Linked DNA regions of Homo sapiens: region 1 is linked to region 2. Evidence: promoter capture Hi-C in 16 types of primary human blood cells and fetal thymus (Javierre and others, 2016). All regions are on one chromosome and are shown on one strand. The core of a region is centred on a gene start or on the middle of the fragment in contact, and the rest is flanking DNA. Distances in the headings are between cores, read along the strand shown.

What was found. The method cuts DNA at HindIII sites, captures the fragments that hold promoters and counts their contacts. A CHiCAGO score of 5 or more calls a contact.
Region 1: a contact is called between a fragment that was not itself captured here and the fragment with the promoter of UBA2 in region 2, in 2 of 17 cell types (naive CD4 T cells and total CD8 T cells). The highest score is 6.8, in naive CD4 T cells.

The regions. Positions count from the first base shown.
Region 1 is chr19:34,338,216-34,343,917 of GRCh38, reverse strand. GARRE1 (granule associated Rac and RHOG effector 1) reads right to left here. Exons shown (of 14, transcript NM_014686.5): 9 at 3,926-4,051; 10 at 1,463-2,496. Among named protein-coding and RNA genes, the nearest start is that of GPI, 24 kb to the left of the region's middle. RefSeq lists an enhancer at 1,272-1,772. The HindIII fragment of the contact is 1,543 bases long and covers 804-2,346 here.
Region 2 is chr19:34,423,700-34,429,752 of GRCh38, reverse strand. It overlaps UBA2 (ubiquitin like modifier activating enzyme 2), which reads right to left and starts at 1,372. Exons shown (of 17, transcript NM_005499.3): 1 at 1,183-1,372. The coding sequence starts at 1,320. It overlaps LOC124904695 (a long non-coding RNA gene), which reads left to right and starts at 1,389. Exons shown (of 2, transcript XR_007067232.1): 1 at 1,389-1,631; 2 at 3,352-3,647. It overlaps PDCD2L (programmed cell death 2 like), which reads right to left. Exons shown (of 7, transcript NM_032346.2): 7 at 3,585-3,763. The coding sequence ends at 3,633. RefSeq lists silencers at 875-1,034, 1,105-1,214, 1,245-1,484. The HindIII fragment of the contact is 4,339 bases long and covers 1-2,486 here.

The DNA.
Region 1 (5,702 bases), core at 326-2,825, 86 kb after region 2:
ATAAGGCACTATTTGCTATTAGCTTTTAGTAGATAGTCTTTTTTATTTTTTATGTATTTACTTATTTTTTAGAGACAGAGTCTTACTTTGTTGCCCAGGCTGGGCTGCTGTGGTGTGATCATGGCTCACTGCAGCCTCAACCTCCTGAGCTCAAGCGATCTTCCCACCTCAGCCTCCCAAGGAGCTGGGACTACAGGCATGTGCCACCACACCCAGCTAATTTTTTATTTTTTGTAGAGATGGGGGTTTCACTATGTTGGCCAAACTGGTCTTGAACTCCTGGCCTCAGGCAATCTGCCTACCTCAGCCTTCCAAAGTGCTGGAAATTACAGGCATGAGACATCATGCCTGGCCAGGTTTTCCACTTCTTGGTATAATTTTGTAATGCCTATTTTGCTAGGAAAGAATCCATTTTCTGCTGAATTTCCAAATGTATTGCTATTAAGTCTTAGATGGTACTGTCTTAAAGTGGCTTTTTTTTGAGACAGGGTTTCTCTCTGTCAGCCAGGCTGGGGTGTAGTGGCATGATCATAGCTCACTGCAGCCTCAAAATCCTGGGGTCAAGGGATCCTACCGCCTCAGCTTCCTAAGCACCACCACACCCAGCTAATTTTGTTTAATTTTTAGTAGAGATGAGGGTTTTGTGATGTTGACCAGGCTGGTCTCGAACTCCTGGCCTCAAGTGATCCTCCAGCCTTAGCCTCTCAAAGTACTGGGATTACAGGCATGAGCCACTAAAGCGCTTTTAATGTATCCTTTCTATTTCCTAATTTTGTTTCTCTTTGTTCTCCCTTAATCAAGCTTAGAATAAATTGGCTTATACATTTTATTGGTCTTCCAAAGATCCTTTAGAGTTATTTGCAATTTCTACTCTATTTTTCTTTCTAATTTACTTATTTTTGGCTTTTCCCCCTTAATTCCTCCTCCTAGTTTGTTCTTGTTTGTAAATTCCTTCTCTAATTTTTTAAGATGACTCTGGTGGTATTTTCATTGTCTAGCCCAGGAGAAGCTGTATTCTATGAAGGCAGGAGGGTGTCTGTCACCTGTCATAGGTCCTAGAGTTTAGGCAAAAAAAAAAAGCATCGCAAAGAACAGGTTATATAATCAGGAAAAAAGCACCCCACAAAGGGCTGCTGACCTTGGCTGCCGGGAGTAGGCAGGCCTAGACTGGAGCCTACTTGAACTATGGGACTTTGAGCTGTTCAAGTAACCTCTCTTAGCCTCAGTTCTGTTCTCTATAAAGTAAGAAAAATAGTCCACTCATGTTCTCAGCCCCTTTCTCACCACTGTTTCCCATCTTGGTAGATCTGCCCCATACTTGCCTCCACAGTGAGAAAGGGTCGTAAAGGGGGATTAAATGATTTCACCTTCACAAGTAAGGCTGCAGCAGACAGGCCCTGGGAAGACCTCGGCAGTTGCATTTGCTGTTGACACTGGGCGAGGGATGGGAGGCCTCACATACCTGCAGGATCAAAAGGCAGAATCTCTCCCAGCATTCCAAAGACTCCATCACTTTGGTCACGGTTGGGCCAGGTGTTATTTCTAGGTCCCTGCGGCTTCTGTCCCAGAACCTCTGACATCACATTATCCATATAGCTGCTCACCAGACCCAAGCTGTACAAGTCAGAACTGAGATCAGATATGCCAGGCCACTGACCAAGAGGAGACAGACCTGCTCCAACAGCCTGCGCTGGCTGCTGGGATGAGCCATGTACCCATTTCCCAGGTGCCCGAGGCTGGGGCGGGGGCTGCTGCGGTCCAATGGGCTGGAGTAGGTGTTGGTAGTATTGGACTTGAGGTTGTTGCTGCTTTGGGGACTGCTGCTGAGGTGCCAGTCCCGGCTGGGGTGTCAGAGGTGTGTGTGCCCCAGCCTGGGGTGCCCGTGGTGGAGGGGGCACAGGCAGTGACGGCTGCTGTGGTTGCATGGCTCCTGCCTTCTGCTCAGTCACCATGGCTGTGGCAGCAGAATTATGCCTTGTCACCAACGGAGAGCCCTGATGTGACTGGCCCATGTTAAAGCCCGAGAGAAAATCTATCACCTCTTGCATTTCCTGATCAGTTGGTAAGTTCATACCCTTCTCATCCTTGCCGTCATCTCCATGCAGGAAGTTCTCACGCCTCTCCATGAGAAAGCCATTGGCCACTGTATTACTGGAATTCTGAGCTGACTGTGAAGGGTCTGTAGTCCTGGGGAAATTACCAATGTTCAAAATGCTTTGTAACCTTGTATCAATATTGCCAGGCATTTTGGCCTTCTCTTCGGAACATCCAGCTATGAAGATGTTTTTGGAAGGGGTATTTTGGATGGAATAATTTGTGCTGCTGCTGGAGCTGGTACATGAAGCTTTCTTGGTGAACCGGGATGTCAGTTTGGAGAATGTCTTCTGCAGGCCACCTGAAGATTTGTTTCCATTTCCAGAAGGCAGGTCAGCCTGGTTGCCAAAATCACAGATCTCCCTTTGCAGCTGGATCTGTATGCAGGGTAAAGCTTGCTCCCTATTTAAACAGAAATTTGTTTAAAAAAAAAAAAGACAAATATATAAAATAATAAAATGGACCTCTTTGTATTTAAGAATGGCGTTGAGAGCAAGAAAAACCTCTCAGGTTGGTATCGGGTTCACTTATTTTATATATAAATGAACACCCAGGGGTTTGGAGAGTATGAAATCTACAGTGTCTAACGCAGGACTGGAAGTTCTGCTAGGATTCTGGCCTGAGGAGTGTGATTCAGTGAAATCCTCTAATGGTGGCACAGGAGGGGAAAGCATGGCTAGATGTGGGGATGCAACTTGCAGAAGCTAGATTTGTGCCTGGAGGACAGGGGCTACAGCCACGCAAATGCAGCAGAGGGACAATGGACAACTCCACAAAGCAGAGGGAGGTGGTGGGGGGATGCAGGGATACTATGTGCCAACGTTGTCCCAACAGATGGCTGTGACTTTCAAAGTTTCCTGAGCACATTTTTCCCATACTAAAATGGAGCCCTAAAGAGCGAAAGGGCATGGGGCAGGAGCTGAGGCAGGTGAAGGCTGTGTGACCCTGGAAAAGTCACTTCACTATTCTGGCCTTTGTGTACTCATGAGTTAAGAAAGGGAGAAAAGGTTGGGCATGGTGGCTCACGCCTGTAATCCCAGCACTTTGGGAGGCCGAGGCAGGCACTTGAGGTCAGGAGTTTGATACCAGCCTGGCCAACACAGCGAAACCCCATCTTCATGAAAAATACAAAAATTAGCTGGGCGTACACCTGTAATCCCAGCTACTCGGAAGGCTGAGGTAGGAGGATGACTTGAGCCCAGGAGCTGGGGGATGGATGGGATGGATAGCATGGATGGAGAGCAATATTGCAGTGAGCTGAGATTGTACCACTACACTCCAGCCTGGCTGGGCAACAGAGCCAGATCCTAAAAAGACAAGATGACAAGACCAAAGACAAAGACCAAGACAGAAAAGAAAAGAAAAGAAAAGAAAAGAAAAGAAAAAGGGAGAGGGGCCATGGCTAGATGTTTAAGGCCACTACCAGATGTATACACATTTCTCAAGTTCAACCTGAGAGAACTGATTGAAAAAGAAAAAAAATTCTAAAAGACATAAGCAAATTTTCTAAACATTTCTCTGTTCTTAATTCATAAGGAGAATATGAGTTGAGTTAAAAGTCCTCTTGATGGACTTCCTCTCAAATGACAAAATAAAGGAAGGCAAAAAAGTTAGCAAATAGGGGAATCTGGTACAGGGCATGGAGCAGTTCTTTGTATTATTCTTGCCACTTTGCTGCAGGTTTTAAATTATTCTGAAAATAAAAGTTACTAAAAAGTCCTTACTGCCTTCTTTACAATACCGTATACTATCAATGACACAAGCACACATGAAACTGTGCATAGTCACACTGTCCCTCGGTATGCATCTAATGCAAACCACAGACACCAACCTTCCAGCCCTCCAGCGGTTTAGGTCCAGCACAGCTGTGTAGAGCACGTCCACTAGACCCAGGGTCTTCTCAGGATCAAGGCTTCTCTGCAGCAGGGACATGGTAGCAGGGTCTTCTTTCAGGCACCTAGGCATAGATTAGGCTGCATTAGTCTTGGCTGCATTTCTCTGCAAAGGTGTCTCAAGCAGGTCTCATAGAAAAGGCTACAACTTTTATGTACCTCTGGCGCCCAGCAAAAATTCAGTAACTGTAAGAACATGGAGAGAACAACAGGGCTGATCCTGGAACTCACTGCCCCACAAGAGGAGTAGGAAGCAAAAAGGTCTGAGGTCTCATGATATCAGAATATATATTTGGTCTCTGCCTCCAGTTCCTGATACAGAGCTCCTAAAACCCTTGAGATTTCCTAGGTGATAGTGTCTTTTGTTCTAATAAGATGACTTGCTTATATGATGAAGCCTCCATAAAAATCATCAGACCATCGGGTTCTGAGAGCTTCCACGCTGGTGAACACACTAAGGTGCTGGGCACAGGGCATAGCTGGCAAGGGCATGGAGGCTTGGAGCCCCATCCCAAACACTTCACGCTATGCACCTCTTCACCTGGCTGTTAATCTGTATCTGCTATAATATCCTTTATAATAAACCTTAAATATAATTAAATGTTTTACTGAGTTCTGTGAGCCATTATAGCAAAATATCAAACCTGGAGGTTTTGGGAACCCCCAACTTATAGCCGATTGGTTAGAAGTCGGGTGACAACCTGGGACTTGTGGATGGCATCTGAAGTGGGGAGTAGCCTTGTGGGGCTGAGCCCTTAACCTGTGCGGTCTGTGCTAGCTCAGACACTCTGATTCCTGCCGACTTCTCCAATAAGTGAACAACACAACTGTCTACCCCAAAACTTACACACCCTCTCTAGTTCCCTCACATCTTGCATGCAATCCATCAGTGAATCCTGACAGCTCTTCTTATAAAACACATCCAGAATCTAAGCACTTCTCGCCACCTTGTTTATGAACCCCCTGCTTCAGGAAACCACCACTCCTGGGTCTCAGGACCAAGCTCTCACCTGGCCTCTTTTTCTCTACTCCTGTACCTCCAAAGCCCATCCTTCATATAGGGGCCAGAGTGAGCTTCCTGTAGTGCCAATCAGAGCACATCACTCCCCTGCTTAAAACTCTTCAATGGGATATCATCGTGATTGAAATAAAATCTAAACCCTCACCACAGCCCTCAAAGCCCTCTGTGCCCAGCCCCTCAACCTTGTCCCAGCTGTGAGGCCTTCTCTTCCTCCCTGGATGGGTTTGTCCACACCTCAGGACCTTTGCTCTTGCTGCTGCCTTTGCCCGAATTTCTCTTTCCTGAGATTTTGGTATGGCCAACTGCTTCTCATCATTTGGGTCTCCACCGTCCATTCAGGGTACCTACACCAAGAGCCCCCCAACCTTTTTTCGAGACAGAGTCCTACTCTATCCTCAAGGCTGGAGTGCAGTGGTGTGATCAAAGCTCACTGTTATCCTCGACCTCCTGGGCTCAAGCGATCTTCCCATGTCAGCCTCCTAAGTAGCTGGAACTACAGGCGTGTGCCACCGCACCTGGCTAATGTTTTAATTTTTTTGTAGAGATGGGGTCTCGCTATGTTGCCCAGGCTGGTCCTAAACTCCTGAGCTCAGGTGATCCTCCTGCCTCAGCCTCCCAAAGTGCTAGGATTACGGGTGTGAGCCACTTGGTCTGGCCAAGAGCCCTTTTCTGAGAGGGAAAACAGTCTGAGCAGC
Region 2 (6,053 bases), core at 123-2,622:
GCGATCCTCCTGACACAGCCTCCCGGGTAGCTGGGACCACAGGCGCACACCACCACGCCCCGCTAATTTTCTTTTTTTGTAGAGACGGGGTTTCTCTATGTTGCCCAGGTTCTGTTCTTTTTCTTAAATGATACATGGCAAACGTTTATTGAATTTTTGCTGCCTCCCTTAATTCAAGCCTTCATCCATACACAATTTCATTTACTATTAACCTGAGAACTGTGAAAGGAAACTTTTACACATGGTTAAAAAAGTATCATGTTTTAAGTTTTATCTAATTTTTGCTTAAATATATAATACATAAAGGAAAGAAACAATGACTCAGTCGGCCACCCGTACTTTTTTGTTCATTCCATGTTTCCACTAGCCCTTAAGACACTTTAAACTCACACCGAAGGGCCAGTAACATCTCCAATCTCTAAAAAGTTTGCATTAGTAGAAATAACGATTCAAAATAGCACTGGCTTGTCAACGTACACCAATGCAAAAGGCACAGTCCTAACGTCTTTAATGAAACAAGCGAGTGTACCGTCTACTGTGAGAGCAATGACAGTCACGCAGCCTGCGGGAGCCCTGCCACTCGCTCCGTGACCCAGGGTAAGTTACTCAACCCCATTGCGTCTCCCTTTCCTCATCTGTTAAAAATAAAGCAGGGTGGAAATAGCGTTTGCACTCCTCGGGTGGTATGAAGATGGTGCGCGTTCCGTGTGTAAACCCGCTCGTGACCAGCGCTCGGGACGCGTTGGTCGCTATCATTGCCATCCTCCGCCCCGCGTCGTTACTTCGGAGTTACGACAGGGACCTCAAAATTAAAGTCACAACATCCGCGAGGGACTCAATCCTCTCCCGCATCTCCTAACAGCCGGGAATTTGTTTTGAAGGGAGGATAAGAGGCGGCTTCACGCCCACGAAGCGCCACACATTGGCGCTGCCGGGGAGGCGGGGGCCCGCGGCCTCCTCGGCGTCCGGAGCCGGCCCAGCGAGCGGAGGCCCGCCCCGTGCCCAAAGAACAGTCTCCTCCCGCGGGGGGGGCACAACCCGAGCCTCTCAGCCTGCCCCCGCTCCGCAACTCCGGTCCCGGGCTCCGGGCCCTGAGCCTCAGAGCCCCTGGAGCCCCGGAACCCCCGAATCCCAGCCCCCGCACCACAGCCCGCCATTCACGCGCGCGCGCCCGGCCCTCACCAGGTCGATGTGGGAGAAACCGGTGAGCACGAGATTCTTGAGGAGCTCGCAGCCGATGCCGCCCGCCCCCACCACCAGCACCCGGCCCCCGGCCACCGCCTCAGCCAGCTCCCGGGGCAGCCCCCGCGACAGTGCCATGGCGGGACAACCACGAGCCGCGGCGGAGGCGGAGGCGGGAGAACCGAGCCGCGGCCGGAAGCGGGTGGGGGAAGGGCGGCCTGGTTTCCGCTCCTGCGCACTACAGCCTCCGGCAGACACAGGCAGGGCACATCGCGCCGGGGTGTGCTGCAGCCCGCGGGGACCGGCAGGCTCTTGCAAAGGGCTGGCGACCTCCAGCTGAGACCGGCGGTGTTATTCCCACACCAGCATAGGCCCGCCATCAGACCTAAAAAGTCTAAGGGTCGCCTTCTAGCCTGGGGTTTCAACTCCCAGCCAAGACTTCCTTACAGGTTAGAAAACTGATGTCCCTATACGTAAAGAGCTCTTACAAATTAACAAGTGTCACCCCCAAAAAAATATAGGCAAAGGATGTGAACAGGAAACTCACAAAAAATTGGACAATATGATCAATAAGCGTATTAAAATGTAAACCATAAAAGAATCGCTTGAACCCTGGAGGTGGAGGTTGCAGTGAACCAAGATCGCACCACTTCACTCCAGGCTGGGTAACAGAGCAAGACTCCGTCTCAAAAAAGAAAAAAATGTAAACCATGCAAAATGGTAAGATTTTCACCTGCCGGGCGCGGTGGCTTACGCCTGTAATCCCAGCACTTTGGGAGGCCGAGGCGGGTGGATCACGAGGTCAGGAGTTCTGAAACCAGCCTGACTAACATGGTGAAACCCCCATCTCTACTAAAAATACAAAAATTAGCCGGGCGTGGTGGCGTGCGCCTGTAATCCCAGCTACTCGGGAGGCTGAGGCAGGAGAATCGTTTGAACCCAGGAGGCAGAGGTTGCAGTGAGCCGAGATCGCGCCACTGCACTCCAGCCTGGGCAACAGACTCCGTCTCAAAAAAACAAACAAACAAACAAACAAAAAAAAACACCGAAACAGCTGGGGGTGGTGGCACAAGCCTGTAGCCCCAGCTACTCAGGAGGCTGAGGCAGGAGAATTGCTTGAACCCAGGAGGCGGAGGTTGCACCACTGCACTCCAGCCTGAGCAATACAGCGAGACTCTGTCTCAAAAAAAAAAAAAAGTTTTTCACCTACTAAACTGGTAGAAAGAAAAAATAAGTAACACTTATCAAGGGATTGGGAAACAAGCACTCCAACACACTCCAGGTAAAGATTCCAAAGCAAAGCTTCTCTAGAGGGCGTGGTGGCTTGCACCTGTAGTCCCAGCTACTCAGGAGGCTGAGGCAGGAGGATCACTTAAGCCTGAGAGGTCGAGGCTGCAGTGAGCTATGCCCTTACCACTGCACTCCAGCCTGAGAGACAGAGCAAGACCCTGTCTCGAAAAAAAAGAAAAAAAAACCCTAAAATTGTGCACAACTTTTGACTCATTCATTCCAATTCTAGGAAACTGTCCTGTAGCAGTTATCATTGATTTAAAATATATATAAATTTAGTTACAGGGATGGCCATCATGGGAATAAAAATTGGAAAATACAAGTGGCTAAAAATTGTATAAAGCTTTTGATGTATATTTAAAAAATAGAGCAATTATAAATTATGTTGTGGGAAAAATATTAATGGGAAAATGCTCCAAATATAATGTTAAATGCAAGAAACAAGCCCACCCCATGATCACCTAGGCCTCATTATCCTCATCTACGTAGGCAGAGCATGTCTGAACATGGCTGGGAGTGTTTTTATACTGCTGTTATGGGGCTGAAGGGAAGGGGTTGATCATGTTAAAAATAAAGAAAGGGGAAGACTGGAAGGCAGCTGGATAAAGGGACAGTCTCCAGAACGGAGTAAAGACCCCTTCCTGGGATACTGCAGGAGCAGAAGATGGGAGTGGGTGAGGGCGGGGACCTGGGCTGATGAACATGGGCAGGTCTAAACAGCCAGGGTCACAGAGCAAAAACCTCCAGCAGCTAGAGCAGGTTCAGTGGCTTGATCAGGTGCCAGAAACAGCATAGGAAGCACTGGAGTGCACGTGTCAGAGGTGTACACAAGAGGCTGACCACTGCTCTTGGCTCTTTCGCTGCTCTCCTCCCCCCTAGAATGCCCACCAGAACGGCTGTGCAGACAACACCAGCCCTCTGGACTAGAGAGGAGCTACCTTCCTAGCTGCCACTGTGACAGCTGGCCCTGGACCCTGGAAGGGCAGACCAACCCACAGTCAGGAGGTCCTGGCCCGGCCCCGGCCCCGGCACCAGCACCCAAAGGCAAAAAGGCAACTCAGAAAAACAGAGGTTAATAACTTGTGAGTTAAAATAAGGTACATACAAACATATTTGGATGTAAACATTTGTTTTAATTTATATTAATAAAAGGAAATGCTCTACTTAAACAATAATTCATCTGGGTCTTCTTGTATAATACAAAATTCTTCCATGGGAGTCTGATGATTTGGGGGCCAGCAACTCTTCTCACATGTGTAAACTAGAATTGTTCCAAATTCCACAGAAAGACCTGAAAAATACCACATATTCAGGCTTCCAGCAAAAAGAGTTATGAGACTGATGTTACTAAAAGGAATGATTTTACCTTATAAGCTGAAAAAGTAATTAGGTAAAGCAAAAACAGTGCTTACTGCTTTCAGCTATAACAGAATCACAGTCTATCCTATAATAAGTGAATATTGATAACAAAAAAGCAAAATTAATTTAAAGTGGCAGGAAAATATACTTTAAAAATAAACAAAAATTTCAGCAAGTGTTCATTATAACTGTCTAGCTATCTGATGTTGAAAATCTATATTAATCTACATGGTTCATGTGATATACATAGCTTTTGGCTAGGTGCGGTGGCTCACAACTGTGATCCCTGCACTTTGGGAGGCCGACGGGGAAGGACAGCTTGAGCCCAGCCTAGGCAACATAGTGAGACACCTGTCTCTACAAAAAACAAAACAAACAAACAAACAAACAAAATATATATATATCTCATATAGCCTGGGCAACACAGTGAGACTTTACTAAAAAAAAAAAAATTCACTGGGTGTAACGGTGCACACCTGTAGTCCCAGCTACTCAGAGGAGACTAAGGCAGAAGGATCACTTGAGCCCAGGAGATAAAGGCTGCAATAAGCTATGATTGCACCACCGTACTCTGGCCCGGGTGATAGAGCGAGACCCTGTCTTAAAAAAAAAAAAAAAAAGAAGAGAGAAATATATATCATAGGACACACTACTGCCGAGAAAGGATAAGGATTCAGGCAAAAAATATAAAATAAACCCTAAGAGTTTACAGAAAATTATCAATGAATAAAGCCATTAAAAAAAGATACCAAGAAAACATAAGCAATAAGAACTCCTGATATTAGAACAGAAAAGCAGGAGTCAAGAGGATGACGTAGGCAATGATTTGCAGCAGCAAAGGAGAAATACATTGTTTAAAAATGTATGCATTGGCTGGGCACAGCACATTGGCTCATGCTTGTAATCCCAGCACATTGGGAGGCTGTGGTATATGGATCACCTGAGGTCAGGAGTTCAAGACCAGCCTGGCCAACATGGTGAAACCCCGTCTCTACTAACAATACAAAAAATTAGCTGGGCGTGGTGGTAGGCACCTGTAATCCCAGCTACTTGGGAGGCTGAGGCAGGAGAATTGCTTGAACCTGGGAGGCACAGGTTGCAGTGAGAAGAGATTGTGCCACTGCACTCCAGCCTGGGCAACAGAGTGAGACTCTGTCTCAAAAAAAAAAAAAAAAATGAAAAAATGGCAGAGTTTAACTGGTATATGACATTCCTCTAGGAGCATCTGACTGGTAAGGGAAAAGCGCCTCAAGTGAGCAAGTCTACAACTCCAGTAAACACACTGCGCATGCGGCCTCTCCCAAGTGCTGGAGGGCCACTATGCATGTGGACAGCCCACCCCAAGGGAAGAAACAAGAGAAGTAACCCAAGACCCAGGAAGTATAAAACCCCAAGTCAAAGGTCAAATGGACACTTGAATCTCTCAGGTTGCCTGCTTGGCCCTCTTCCAACTATATTTACTTCCTTTCGTTCTTGCTCTAAAACTTTTTAGTAAGTTTTCACTCCTGCTCTAAAATTTGCTTCGGTCTCTCCTCTGTCTTATGTGCCTCGGTCAAATTCTTTCTTCGGAGGAGGCAAGAACTGAGGTTGCTACAGACCCCTACAGATTCACCGCTGCTAACAGTATTGTGGCAAAAATGTTAGTCACAAAGGGGGAAAAAATCAGACCACCCTCATACCTCTACAAAGCTACATTCCATGCAAAAGACATTTCTATATGAGTGAAAAATCTCAGAGACTAGAATGCCCATAAGCCCTTCCAGAAAAATATATTTCCCAGTGAGACTGAACCACCAAGAAATGACAGGAGGCACCAGGGCAAAGGGCTGGCAGGGCTTTCACTGTCAGAAGACAACACAGGGGTCTATACAAGGTTCTGAAAAGAGAAAGTGGGATTTAAAAATTTTATACATGGGTTGCCCCTCAAATATGAAGCCACATTACCATGCACAATCTGAAGCAAGATACCTCTGAGCCCTCCTTAAAGCTATTACTTGAGAAAATCCAGCTACTGCAAAAAGAATCAAAATAAAACAGGAATAAAAAAGCTCACTCTAAGAGTGGTGATAAACACTGAATCCATTTACACATAGAACTAAGGCTATCCAAATAGCTGTGATAATTATGATACTGGCCAGGCGCGGTGGCTCATGCCTGTAAATCCCAGCACTTTGGGAGGTCGAGGTGGACGGATCACTTGAGGTCAGGAGTTCAAGACCAGC